Regions from separate parts of the Homo sapiens genome. Here region 2 is linked to region 1. The links are contacts of gene promoters, found by promoter capture Hi-C in blood cells and fetal thymus (Javierre and others, 2016). All regions are on one chromosome and are shown on one strand. Each heading gives the region's core, a stretch centred on a gene start or on the middle of the fragment in contact. The rest is flanking DNA. Distances are from core to core; before and after follow the strand shown.

Region 1 (7,175 bases), core at 339-2,838:
TCTTGGCGGCAGGCAGCCACAGCCAGGCTGGTGAGCAGGGTGCTGGACACTAGGTAGAGCAAGGCAGGTTGGCCCATCTGCATGAGGACCATGGCCATGAATGTGACCAGCAGGCCCACAGCATAGGCCACGGTGCAGGCCACGAAGTAGATCTGACGGGAGCAGACTTGCACATCAAAGCGGCAACAGTAAGCAACCAGGAAGCCGGGGACCACAATGTCACCGAAGCCAAGGATGGAGAAGGGCTGGCTGCACAGGGTCAAGGCGGAGACTCTTAGCCGGGGCACTTTGAGTACCATGGGCAGCCTCTCATGGCTTGAAGACTCTGCAGGGCCCAAGGCAACCTGCGCCATGATGCTCTCACCGGTTTTGGTGAAGAAGGGGGTGACGAAGACAAAGAAGACATCAAAGGCCAGCAGGGCCAGCAGGAAGGAGGAGCAGTTCTTGAGAGTGGGCAGCCGCACACGGTGCAGGACGAACAGGCAGTAGGAAATGCCCAGTGTGTCCTGCAGGAGCCACGCCCAGCGGTCCTCATTGCGGTAGGCCACCCAGAAGATGATCACGGTTGCGCACAGGCTCGCCAGCAGCAGCAGAGGCAGCGGCAGAGAGGCCCAGAGGCTGTGCGGAGGCCTCTGGTATTGCCGCAGGGACAGGCGGCACACCAGGGGTGACAGGCAGCTGTAGAGGCCAATGCCAGCACCCAGGCCAAAGATCCCAATGGTGACATAGACAAAGTGGTCATAGAAGAAGTAGAGCAGCAGCATGAGCGAGCAGGACAGGGTGACCACCACGCCTGTCATGGCCGGCGTGAAGTCCACTGGGATGTCCTCATTATCTTCCTTCTGGGCTCCCTCAGCTGCTGCAGCTTCCTGCAGCTGATGGTGACCACCAGACCCCCCTCCTCTTCGGGCACGGCGCCGCTGTAGCCGGTTGGCTTCGGTCAGGCCGGCCCAGTAGCCGCCTGCAGCCACTGTGCCCACAGCCAGGATGAAGATGACCAGCATGTTGTAGTCGATGATGGGCTCTGGGGGTGCGTACATGGCCACGCGGACGACGGCCTCCCCACGAGTGTGGCTGAGGATGTCCAGCATGTCAGCATAGTGGAGCATAGCCACAGGGATGGTGAGGTCTGCCAGGGGCTGGCGGGGATCCTGGGGTGCCAGGGTGGTGTCTGAGCACTGTTGGTCACTGACCCGGCTCACGATGAGCAGCCCGTGGGCACCTTGGCCCTGAGCCAGCCAGCCTTTCGTGTGGAAGCTGCAGTTACCCCTCATGACCATGGCAGTGGTCTGGCGGAGGGGCCGCTGGCTGGGGGAGCGGAGCTGGGCCTGGTGGGGGGAATCCTCACCCGGGCACCAGGGTGCCTTGGTGCCATCATACAGGGGCAGGAGTGGGGCGTGGTGCAGGTCCCGGGGGAGGGTGATGTAGTCGGAGCTGAACAGGATACAGTAGTCCTTGCTCCAATTCTCCGACACCACGTGGGCCACGCCGTACTTTCCCCCGGCCACGGTGCTGATGAGGAGGAGGAAGCCCACGGGGAGGAGGAAGCCCAGGCACGCCATCTTCTTCAGTTCCTACTGCAACATCTGCGGGCGGCAGCCCAATACCCCTCCCAGGGGCAGGCGTGGCCCTTTGTCACAGAGCAGTCTGGCCACCTGTCCTGGAAACCAGGGCCACACCTACCTAGTCATAAAGCTGTGTGGTCCCCAGCCGAGGGCGCTGCTGTGGGGCACAGGGTCCCTCTAGAATGATGCCCCCCAACCCTGGGAGACCAGGGGAGAGGTCATATGGACCCTGCTCTCTGCCCAGACCCTAGTGGGTTTAGACCAGGTACTTTGAAATAAAAGGTGTGAGCATGGGGTTTGCAGGCCAGATAGGATTCTGAACCAACTTTTCTCCTTACCCATGGGGAACACAGGCCAATGTCACTCCTCTCTAGGCCTGTTTCTTTAGCTGTAAAGAAATGAGGACGTTGGGCCAGAGAGTTTCTAAGGTCCCTTGGAGCTCTGAGCTCAGTAACATTGAGCACTTTTACCGAGGGCTTACTAGGCGCCAGGTACCCTAGCTGTACCTATTGCACAGTTGCAAGGAGGTGTCATTATATCTGCACAGCCTGAGGCTGTCCCTCAAAGTTGGTCCCCATTTCTACCAGGCACATGACCAGAATTCACCTCCAACTCCATTTACAGTTGGGAACGGACAGGTGACCAGGAGAAATTAAGCAAAAATGATGTGAACTCTTTACATCAGGGGCTTAGGCTGACAGACCGTGGGGCTCCTGGTTTACCCTCTCTTTCCCTTTCTCAGGAGTCAGAACAAGGACGGGCCTGTGATGTGTCTGTCTATGACGAGGAGGACAATGTCCTAAGGAATGGAGAGGAAGAAAGTGAAGGGAACCAGGTCCCTGGATTCCATGTGGAACAGTAGCCCAGGATGTGCACTATGGACTGTTACAAGAGAGAGACATGATCTTCCTTAAGGCATTGATTTGTCATGAGTCTCTTTGTTATAGCCACTTAACGTTACCTTAATACACCCACTTCATGGATAAGTAAAACTGAGGCTTGGAGAAGCCCACATTGACACAGCAAAGAAGGCTGGGGCTCTTGTGCTGGTTAAATGGACCTTGATGTCTTCCAAATGTTTTCATGCTGGATTCTGAGCCACTCTCCTGGCTGCAACTCTGAGGCCGGGCAGACTTTCCGCTGGAAAGAGAACTCAAATACTGGTGAGAGGTGGATTTGAAGCCAGGAGCCCCAGGTTTTGGCTCTGCAGGTTTGCACCCAGCTCTGTGGTGTATGCCCTCACAGGTCACCCAGGACCTCCTGTCCAGGCTTCTTCAGGCCACCCATGATGGAGTAGATTTGAGGAATGAGGTTTTCAAAGCAGTTAGTGTGCGGGAGAGTAACCCTGGGGCCTCCGGAACCAGAAGGGAGGGATTTGGGGGCTGGAGCTTGGCAGTCCAGGTTCCATTGTCCTCATGTTCTCCCCACTGGCCTGGCCTGTCACTCCAGTCTCTGCATAGGTTGTCACATGGCATTCTCCCTGTGTGTCTCTGTGTCTCTTCTCTTCTTTATAAAGACATAGTTATAATGGATTAGGGCCCACCCTAATGACACCATCTTAACTTGATTATGTCTGCAAACACCCTACTTCCAAATAAGGTCGCATTAACAGGTACTGGGGTTTAGGACTTCAACATGCCTATTTGGGGGCACAATTGTGGGCAGCCCCACAACACACATGTAATTTTAACCTCTAAGGAGTAAGCATGCTGATTTTTTTTTTTTTTTTTTTTTGAGACAGGGTCTTGCTCTGTTGCTCGGCTGGAGTGCAGTGGCACGATCTCAGCTCACTGCAAACTCCACCTCCTGGTTTCAAGCAATTCTCCCCCGACCCAGCCTCCCGAGTAGCTGGGATTACAGGTGTGTGCCACCATGCCCAGCTAATTTTTGTGATTTTAGTACAGATGGTGTCTCACCATTTTGCCCAGGCTGGTCTCGAACTCCTGGCCTTAAGTGAATCGCCCACCTCAGCCTCCCGAGGTGCTGAGATTACAGGCACAAGCCACTGTGCCTGGCCAATCACTGATCTTTCTCAAGGACTCTCCTTCTTTTCTCTTTGAGATGGAGTCTCACTCTGTCCCCTAGGCAGGCTGGAGTGCAGTGGCACAATCTTGGCTCACTGCAACCTCCACCTCCCAAGTTCAAGCGATTCTCCTGCCTCAGCCTCCCAAGTAGCTGAGATTATAGGCGCCCACCACCATACCTGGCTAATTTTTGTATTTTTAGTAGACATGGGGTTTCACCATGTTAGCCAGGCTGGTCTCAAACTCCTGGCCTCAGGTGATCCAGCCACCTTGGTCCCCCAAAGTGCTGGGATTACAGGCGTGAGCCACCGTGCCTGTCAAGGCCTCTCCTTCTATTACGGGTCCATCTCTTGCAGTCCCAAACTGCTTTCCTTGGGAAATCCACAGGGATGAAACATCATCTCCAACATCAGCTGTGGATTCTTTGAAGTGGAGGGTGAGTTTAAAGGGCCATGTGAAGTGGTCAGCAAGTGGAACCCATCTGAGATTCTGACAATTCTCTCTCACCCAGTTATTTACACTCATCTCACCCACACCTAATTTGCCAATATTTTTGGTGACTCATTTGTAAAGTATCCTTCAAAGCATTAGACTGAATTTTCATAAGAAACATCTCTCCTTGTTAGTGCACTTCTGATTCATCAGTAATATAACATTTAGTTAGATTACGACAGTAATTACAATGACAAGTGAACTGTCAGAAACATGTTCAGGAACAAATACAAGTGACTGGCAAACAAACCACCAGCCGGTGTGAGGAGAAGCAGGCAGAGCCCAGGGGAGGAGGCTGCCAGCTGTCCCTTCCGAGTGCTCCCATTTCAAAGGGGAGGTTGGCAGGAGGGTGGTTAGGAGAGGGAGGCTCGCCTGTAGGCCACAGGAGGGCTGTGACAGTAAAACCCTTTCTGGCCCCCCAGCAACGAATGGGCAACCTAGACCCTCACTCCAGGCCCTGTTCTCCACGCAGGGAGTCGTGGATCTTTTAAAAAACAAGAACCAGCACACCCACTTTGTCACAAAACCCAGACAATCACAAGCTTTGTCGAGGATATAGGGAAGTTGGGACCCTCATACACTGCTGGTGGGAATGGAAAATTGTGCAGCCGCTGCAGGAAACAGCTTGGTGGTTCCTAGATAAGTTAAGCAGAGTTATCATATGACCCAGCACTTATACTCCCAGCTATATATCCCAAAGAATTGAAATCAGGCCTTCAAACAAAAGCGTGTACATGCATGCTCATAGCAGGACTATTCATGATAACTTGGAATAGGTGGAGAGAACCCATATGTCCATCCACTGATGAATGGAGAAACTGCGGTCTCTCCACACAAGGGAATAGCATTCAGCCATAAGAAGGAATGACGTTTTGATACCTGCTACCATGTGGATGGACCTTGAAAACATTATGCTAAGCCGAAACACATTATGCTAAGTGGAAACACATTATGCTAAATGAAGACGCCAGACACAAAAGGACACATATTGTACGATTAATTCCACTTACGTGAAACAGCCAAAACAGGCAGATCTACAGAGGCAGAGAGCAGATTCGTGGCGGGCAGGGGCTGGGGGAGGGGAGAATGAGGAGTGACTGGTGGGTATGGGATTTCCATCTGGGGTGATGAAGAAGTTCCAGAACTTTTTCTATCTCAGTGGTTTCAGTTGCACGACATTGTGTATTTAAAGTCACTGAATTGTGCACTAACATGGTTGAAATGGGACTTTTTTTTGAGATGGAATTTCGCTCTTGTCCCTCAGGCTGGAGTGCAGTGGTACAATCTCAGCTCACTGCAACCTCCACCTCCCGGGTTCAAGTGATTCTCCTGCCTTAGCCTCCCGAGTAGCTGGGATTACAGGCATGCACCACCACCATGCCCAGCTAATTTTCGTATTTTTAGGAGAGACAGGGTTTCACCATGTTGGCCAGGCTGGTCTCGAACTCCTGGCCTCAAGTGATTCACCCACCTTGGCCTCCCAAAGTGCTGGGATTACAGGTGTGAGCCACAGCGCCCAGACGAAATGGAGCAACTCCAGTCCCCTCCAGCTGCTCTCTCCTCAGGACAGGTCTCATTTTAGTTCTTCTGGACTCCATCACACCAGCACATGCCCCAATTTGGGGGTCTGCACAGACACCTCAAGCAGAGCTTGCTCCTGCCCCTTCTCCCAGATCTACCCGTGGACTGGTTGCCCAGGGCCCAGATAATTCGCAGAAGGCTCATTCCCTCCGAGACTCTGCCTGGGACCCCACTCACAGAAGGCTTTCGTGGGTATGTTTGATCATTGCTTCCCCAGGTCCCCCATCCCTGTGCCCACCCCCATCCATCAGCCCTGGAATCATTCCTCTGGTGGCCACTCAGAGCACTGGTCAGTGCCCTCACATGAGTGGCTGATGCCCCTTGGGGCCATGGCCCACTGCCAGGCTGAAATCCCGCTCCAAGACTTCAGTCCCGCCACCCTCCCCACCCCCACTCCAGATTCAACTCCTTTCCTGGAGGGCACCCCCTGTATCTGTGACTTTGCTCCCCACAACTCCCCCTCCCTCCCCCCACCCTACTGCCCCCTCAGCTATGGCCTGGGCTCTCGGGGTGGCTGCCCAGAGCAGGCTGGGGTAGTGTCTCTGCCTTCTACTTGAGGACCTAGGTGCACCTGGAACATTTATCTTCAACACACAGGGCAGCAGGGCCAGCAGGCCCCAGGCAGCAGGTCTCAGGAAGGGTGGGGAAGGGGCCTAGTTCACCTGGCCCCTCACCTGCCCTTGCTGCCCTGCCCAGCAGCTTCCCCGCTGCATGTTCTAGAGTGGATTGCCATCCACTCCCTCCCCCTTCCCCTGTGATGAGGATGAGCCAGGCAGGCCCACCAGCTGCTGCCCCCATGCCCCCTCACCCTAGCTGATGCCTGCCGTGCCCCCAACCTGGGCTCCTTAGGCACCTAAGAGGCCACCACCCCTTCTTCTGCTCCACCTGCCTTGGCCCAATGGGCAATGAGGCTGGGCAGCAGGGATCAGTCAAGGACCCCTTGGAGGGACAGAAGCCGGTAGGGCTGCTATCTGGCAGCCAAGGGTGGTCTCTGGCCTTATCTCCAAATAATAGTCTCATTGGTGTTCCCAAGCCACTGAGAGCTTTGATAAATATATATGGCCCAGGCCTCTCTTGAGCCTGGTCTGCCAGCAGGACCTGCAGGTGTTGGTGAGCTGAGGGCAGGGGTGGGAGGTGATGCTCTGAGGTAGAGCTGGGATGGGGCTGGGGACGGGAGACTGGCAGGTGGAGCTGGCTTGGAGGCCAGATTTGGGGAGTGGGCTGCCCGAGGCCCACGCTCCGCAGGCTCCAATTCCTTCAGCTAGCTCATCTCTGAATGCTGTTTGACCACAGACTGGGGATGGAAGGATTTCCCTGGGGAGGGGATTGGAAGGGGCAGTGGGGCTGGGAGGACAGCCTTACTAAGAACTCCCACTGCATAGGGGTTAAGCTTCACGGATGCCTAGTGTGGCCTCCCTGGCTTTTCATCCATCCGTGGGTGCCATCAGGCAGGTATCTTAACCTCTCTGGGTTTTATTTGCCTTATCTGTTAAATGGGGATAACAGCCCCGCC
Region 2 (6,936 bases), core at 2,681-5,180, 160 kb after region 1:
GAACTGGCTAAATAAATCCTGGTACAACCAGACAATGAAATATTATGTAGTCATTAAAACGGTGTTTTTGAAGAGTAGACGATGACATGGAAGAATGTTCTGGTTGTTTAAGGTGAAAAAAGCAAGATGAAAAATTGTAGATAAAGTACCATGTAATTTTATAAATTGCTGTGCACAGAAAAAGGAGTGGCATATTAAATGCTAATAATGGTTATTTCTGAGAGGTAACATCTTGGGAGATTTTATTTCTATGTACCTTTTTGTATTTTCTTAATTATTTGCAATGAGCATGTATTACTCTCGCAATCAGCAAAATGATTTTTCAAAATGCCAGCACCTCTTACAATGGATTTCCAAGTGGGCTTGAACAATTTTATTGCACCTTCTTTGAAATAAATAAATTTTACTAAGGTCTGAGCTTCCAAGATTGATGAAAGTGGGCAAGTTTTTTTCTCTCTTTTTTTTTTTTTTTTTTTTTTTTGAGATGGAGTCTTGCTGTCACCCAGACTGGAGTGCAGTGGTATGATCTCAGCTCACTGCAACTTTCGCCTCCCGGGTTCTAGCAATTCTCCGGCCTCAGCCTCCTGAGTAGCTGGGATTTCAGGTGTGTGCCGCCATGCCCAGCTAATTTTTGTATTCTTAGTAGAGACAGGGTTTCACCATGTTGGTCAGGCTGGTCTCAAACTCCTGACCTCGTGAGCCTCTCACCTCGGCAGCCTCTCACCTCGGCCTCCCAAAGTGCTGGGATTATAGGCATGAGCCATCATGCCCAGCCTGGTTTATTTTCTAGAATTCTCCACTTAAGGTGCTTTCAAAGGGAAGTGTTGCATATGTTAACTGGCCATTCCCACTGTGGAACATGATCTGCTGTCATCTCTGACAATGGCACAGGAGAAAGGAGATAGGTGTGAGTTCCTGGAACCACCTAATCTGAAAACTGCATGAGAACTTGAGGCTCACGAGAGCTGCAAGGATAGAGCTGAGGCCCCCGGAAGCAGGAGGAACCCTTGTGGTTTGGAGAAGCACACAGCACGATGACAAAGTCAATGGTGAAATTTCAGTTCTGGCCAGGACCACAAGACTGGACTCTCCTTGGTCTCTGGGACTTCCTTAGAGTCGCCAAAATCATGCAGGGACAGTGGCAGCCAGGCTGACTGTAGAAGCTTAGAAGGCCATGTTGGCCTCACATGCCTAGTGGCATGAAAAGATTAGGGGATAGAAATAGAAGAAACATTCAGAAATGTTTCTATGGTTCAATGCCACTCGGACATAACCACTGGCACCATTCCCTATCAATTCAGCAAACCCCCATCACCAAAAGAACTCACATCCCAGGATTAAATAGGGCGGACCATTACTAAGAGAGGGGAAGGAAGGAATTTGATGTTTTGTCTTATGAAGTTCTATCTGGTGATGGCATCCCCCACTCCGCCCGCCGCAGGAGCCCTTGTGTATACATAGCCATCTCGTCAACATGTGAAGGCCTCGGGTGGCATCAGGGCTCTCTTGATGTTTCGGTGCCAGACATACTGCTCAGGCTTACACGCGTCTTCCCCAGCTTCCAGAATGTAGCCATCAAAGAAGGGAGCATACCAAGACTGCATAAACCCTAACTGTCAGGAAAGTAAAGAACTCCACCTCTAGCTATCTAAACCCCAATCGCAAAAGGACACAATGAAATGTGGTGAAAAAGAACTGAAGGCCAGGTGCGGGGGCTCACGCCTGTAATCCTAACACTTTGGGAGGCCAAAGCAGGAGGACTGCTTGATCCCAGGAGATGGAGACCAACCTGGACAACATAGAGGGACCCTGTCTCCACAAAAATGAAAATAAAAATAAATTAGCTGGGCCTGGTGGCTCATGCCTGCAGTCCCAAGTACTTGGGAGACTGAGGCTAGAGGATCATTTGAGTCTGTGAGATTACAGCTGCAATAAGCCATGACTGCACCATTGCACTCCAGCCTAGGCAACAAAACAAACCTGTCTTCAAAAAACGAAAAGAAAAGAAAAAAGAAATGGAGACATTAGTGAGTGTTATCAGCTATAATGTGAGACACTCTCTAGGAGAATAAAAGGGGGAGGGATCAGGCCACACTGAGGAGGTAGCCTGGAGTATCTGTTGCTCCTTGTAAACTTAGGCAGTCTGCCGTAAATTTCACCGTATTTCCAGAAGCTGGAAACCATCATTCTCGGCAAACTATCGTAAGGACAAAAAAACCAAACACCGCATGTTCTCACTCACAGGTGGGAATTGAACAATGAGAACACACGGACCAGGAAGGGGAACATCACACACCGGGGACTGTTGTGGGGTAGGGGGAGTGGGGAGGGATAGCATTAGGAGATATACCTAATGCTAAATGACGAGTTAATGGGTGCAGCACACCAACGTGGCACATGTATACATGTGTAACAAACCTGCACGTTGTGCACATGTACCCTAGAACTTAAAGTATAATAATAATAAAATTTAAAAAAAAAGAAAGAAAAGAAAACACATACATTAGCTAAATTCTGAGGCCCAAGACGAACCTTGGTGCATCATTATATAAAACTAATAAAAGTGGAAACTTGTGTTTAAAAAAAAAAGAAAAAAGAAAAGAAGCTCCCCTTGAAGCTTCAGCTACAGGAAGGAACAGCAATTACTAAAAGTGCTTTCAAATCTCTCTCACCATAATCCCAGCATGACAAAGACCTGGCCCTATCCACCAAAACTTTTCAAAGCTCTCCATTTTCCTTTAGAAGACCGTCTTAGTTTTATAATGGAATTTTTAAAAAAATGTGACTCACACTATGAATAGTTTCTTTATAGCCAGCTCTCTTGGAATGGGTCTGTTATCAAAGTGAAGACTATCTGTCTCCTACTTCATGGTAACAAATTGCTCTTCCAACAAGATCATTGACATGAACCCAGACATACGTCCCAGCCTCAAGGATTTTTGGCTTTTGAACCATCACCACTGTTATAGGTTTGGACTTTGACATTCCTAAATTGATTTTTCTTCACCAAATCTGGACTTTTTCACATCCACTGGCAAATATGTTGGGATGTCATGAGGTGACATAAACTACCAGCCAGCAGCCCCATTTTTGAAGTATCTCTATTCCACTTGGCTCATATTGTATAGCCTGTTGATGCAATTGTTTGAATATGTTGTTGTGTTTATTGATAGTAAAAATGAGCAAAAATGGAAAATTTAAAGTATAGGTACTAGGTAATAAACAAGAAAGGGTCTCAAAAAGTTAATATAATTAAAATTAAAATGAGGCCAGGCACAGTGGCTCATGCCTGTAATCCCAGCACTTTGGGATGCTGAGGCGGGAGGATCACCTCAGGTCAGGAGTTTTGAGACCAGCCGGGCCAACATGGCAAAATTTGGCTTTTACTAAAAAATGCAAAAATTAACTGGGCATGGTGGCACACCTGTGGCCTCAGTTACTTGGGAGGCCGAGGCAGGAGATTCTCTTGAACCTGAGAGGCAGAGGCTGCAGTGAGCTGAGATCGTGCCACTGCACTCCAGCCTGGCCAATACAGCAAGACTGTCTCAAAAAATTAATTAATTAATTAATTAAAAATAAAAATAAAAAATGAAAGTTGTTTTCATTTTAGCCCAGTGTTCATTTAACTCAAGTTGGTTGACTGGATTCATGTGTGAGGGGTAAAATAGTTGTTCTTTTTTAGGGTCTCACTGTCACCCAGGCTGGAGTGATGTGACATGATCATGGCCTACGCAGCCTTGACCTCCTGGGTTCCAGTGATCTTCTACCTCAGCCTCCCAAGTAGCTGGGACTTACAGGCTTGTGCCACCACACCTGGCTAACTTTTTACTTTTTTTTTTTGTAGAGATGGCGGTCTCACTATTTTGCCCAGGCTGGTCTCAAACTTCTGGGCTCAAGCAATCCTCCCACCTCAGCCTCCCAAAGTGCTGAGATTACAGGCTTGAGCTACTGCACTCAGCCAGAAAATAAGGCCTTAGAAATAAATTATAAGTGATCAATGTTCTTAGAAGCAAAATATAATTAGGGAGTTGTCATTATTTTTAGCTGAGTATAGAATCCACCTTAAAACATAAAATAATAATTATTAACATATTCAGTGCATACGACCCTGTTCTGAGCGCTTTATATATATATTACTTAATTTGCACAAGAACCCTATAAGGTGGTTTCTATAATCATTCCGTCTTTCAGAAAACTGAGGCACAGAGAGGTCTCAGCCACACACCTAGGAAGTGGCAGATTTATGCCCGTGTAGGTAGGTCACTGTCCACATTCTTAACCGCCAGGCTCTCCTCCTTCTTGCATAGTGTAAGATTATTATCTAACTTTGATACATTTATATTCTTAGACATTTTCAGGAACTTATTATATGTGAAAAAAAAATGGCTGGGTGCAGTGGCTCATGCCTGTAATCCCAGCACTTTGGGAGGCCGAGGCGGGCACATCGCAAGGTCAGGAGTTCGAGACCAGTGTGGCCAACATGGTGAAACCCCGTCTCTACTAAAAATACAAAAAATTAGCAGGGCGTGGTGGTGGGTACCTGTAATCCCAGCTACTCGGGAGGCTGAGACAGGAGAATTACTTGAACCCGGGAGGAGGAGGTTGCAATGAGCTGAGATTGCGCCACTGCACTCCAGCCTGGGTGACAGAGCGAGACTCCATCTAAAATAATAATAAGAAGAAGACAAAGTTGTACTGGGATAGGACAGTCTTTGGGGAAGCCATTTCTCTTTGCTGCTTAGCTTTTGTGAACATGCTGTGGTCAGCTTTCAGACCTCAGGTTAAAGACGGATTGAGGAGGAATTTAGGTGAGATCAAGATAGAAGTCATCTTGCCATGATCAGAGTCATTAGCTTGTGAACAACCCTATTTATACTTAAGGTTAGGAGGCTGAGTTCTGTTCTGGGAAACACACTAAAACTCCTGCACAAGGCAGAAGCCCTCGTGTTTGAAACAAAAGAAAACATCTTTGGAAAGGGGCTGCTCAGATGCAAGATGTTTGCATGGGATGGAGATTTACCTGTCACTGGGAACATTGTCAGTAGCCTGGAGTGTAGCTGTAACCCGACACTGATCCATTTGGATGCAGGGAAACTGAGGTCAGCCTAGGAGGAGAAGGATAGAGGATGTACCCACTGTGCCGATCTGATCTCAGATCTCCCTGAAGCAGGTTAGGTGTTAGAATTTCAAAGTGAAGAGGCGAGTGCTTCATCAGGATGGATGCTGACAGCCCTTAAGCTTGGAAACCAGATTTGCTGGGAGTAAACATCCAGGTGGGCCTAGACTGGAAAGCTGGTACCAAGTTAGTTAGACCATTTTATGGTTCGCAAAGCCTTTGAAAAGCGGCAAACACTCCAGAAAAAAATAAAAAAGTATTTGTGCATACAGCTGTAGATTTAAGACAGGCAATGCATCTCCTACCCTCAAACAAATCCATACCCCTCCCCAGGTTAAGAGCGCCTGCAGAGCGTGAGGGTATTTGGGATGTGAGCCATGAGCCGGGAAGGCTAAAAGGGCCGAGCAACATGGGTCACATGATCCGTCCTCTGGTTCAATGCCAGGTCCGGAAGGTTACAAAAGGTCTCCGCACCAGGCTATGCCTGTCAGAACCCCTCACAAGCTGTTCTCATTCACACTCACAGCATCTCTGTGAGAGGCATGGGGTGGCAACCTCATTCCTCCCATGGCCATTCAGGAAAAGGGAGAGCCAGATGCCTTGTCCATCTGTCCATCCTGGGGCCTGCCCTCCCTGCCTGTCCCCACACCTTGCCCCTCAGGCTGGGCAGACACCCCATCCATCTGCCTTTCCTCTACTTCTAGTGTGGGAGGTGGGTGGAGGGGAGTCAGGGTGTCTACAGATGGGGTTTCAGTTTGAGGAGGCCTGGGGACCCAAAATTCAAACCACTTAGGAAGAGGCTGCTGTGAAAAGGGATGGTGCGGTGTAGGGCCCAGGAAAGAGCTTGGAGGGCCCTGAATAGCAGGATGAGGGGCCAGGTTCCTCACAAACAGGACCAAAGAGCCTGTGGAGGTTCTTCAGGGAGAGGGTGGAGCAGGATGAGGGTGGAGTTGCAGGAGGCTCCAGGCAGCCCCTCGACTGTCCTGCAAGCACAGGCTAATGGAGGCTGTTGGCCATGGCTATGGTAGAAGCTGTGGTTGGGAGAGAGGTGGCAGGGGAGTGTCCCATCAAAGCATGGAGCTGTGGAGAGGGAGGCATCCCAGAGTGGGCTCTGCCCCCACCTGCAGAAGGGGGTGTGGAGGAAGGGCTTCAGATGCCAAGTGCAATGCCCCAGGCCCCGGGAGAGGGGCAGGATCTTCTGATGCCGCTGAGCAGTAGCTTCCCGAGGCTGCCCCAGGTGCTTGTGTCCAGCCCTGTGCACTCCTGATCTGACTCTCCCAGGAAGGTGCCTCCTGCTGAGCTCTGGGTGACAAGATGGAGTCAACATGCATTACCCCAAGCACGTTTCTTTTTCTGTTTTTTTTTTTTTTTTTTTTTTGAGACAGGGTCTCGCTCTGTTACCCGGGCTGAAGTGTAGTGGCATGATTATGGTTCATAGTAGCCTCAATCTCTTTAAGTCAAGCAATCCTCCTGCCTCAGCCTCCCAAGTAGCCGGGACCATAGGCATGGCACTATGTGCAGCTTTTTTTTTTTTTTTTTTTTTTTTAGTAGAGACAAGGACCCCCATGTTGCCCAGGCTGGTCTTGAACTCCTGGCCTCAAGCAATCCTCCCTCCTCAGCTTCCCAAAAACCTAGGATTACAGGCATGAGCCACTGCACCTGACCTTGAGCACATGTTTCTTGGACAAGTGCCAGCTGTTGGCATCTGTGTGGCTACAGAGCAGGAATCAGGACGGAGGTGAAGAGAGGGGCAAGGCCAAGGGCAGGGGTGATGTTGGTGTCATTGCAAACAGACCTGGGCACACATGTCTGTGAGGGAG

The links. The method cuts DNA at HindIII sites, captures the fragments that hold promoters and counts their contacts. A CHiCAGO score of 5 or more calls a contact.
Region 2: a contact is called between a fragment that was not itself captured here and the fragment with the promoter of SPPL2C in region 1, in 5 of 17 cell types (megakaryocytes, M0 macrophages, endothelial precursors and 2 more). The highest score is 7.4, in megakaryocytes.

Annotation. Positions count from the first base shown.
Region 1 is chr17:45,839,294-45,846,468 of GRCh38, reverse strand. SPPL2C (signal peptide peptidase like 2C) reads right to left here and starts at 1,588. Exons shown (of 1, transcript NM_175882.3): 1 at 1-1,588. The coding sequence starts at 1,562. MAPT-AS1 (MAPT antisense RNA 1) reads left to right here. Exons shown (of 2, transcript NR_024559.1): 2 at 2,308-3,113. RefSeq lists enhancers at 1-681, 682-1,666 and a silencer at 5,812-6,021. The HindIII fragment of the contact is 7,159 bases long and covers 1-4,625 here.
Region 2 is chr17:45,680,456-45,687,391 of GRCh38, reverse strand. All of the region lies in intron 3 of LINC02210-CRHR1 (LINC02210-CRHR1 readthrough), which reads right to left. Among named protein-coding and RNA genes, the nearest start is that of LINC02210-CRHR1, 64 kb to the right of the region's middle. The HindIII fragment of the contact is 2,621 bases long and covers 2,620-5,240 here.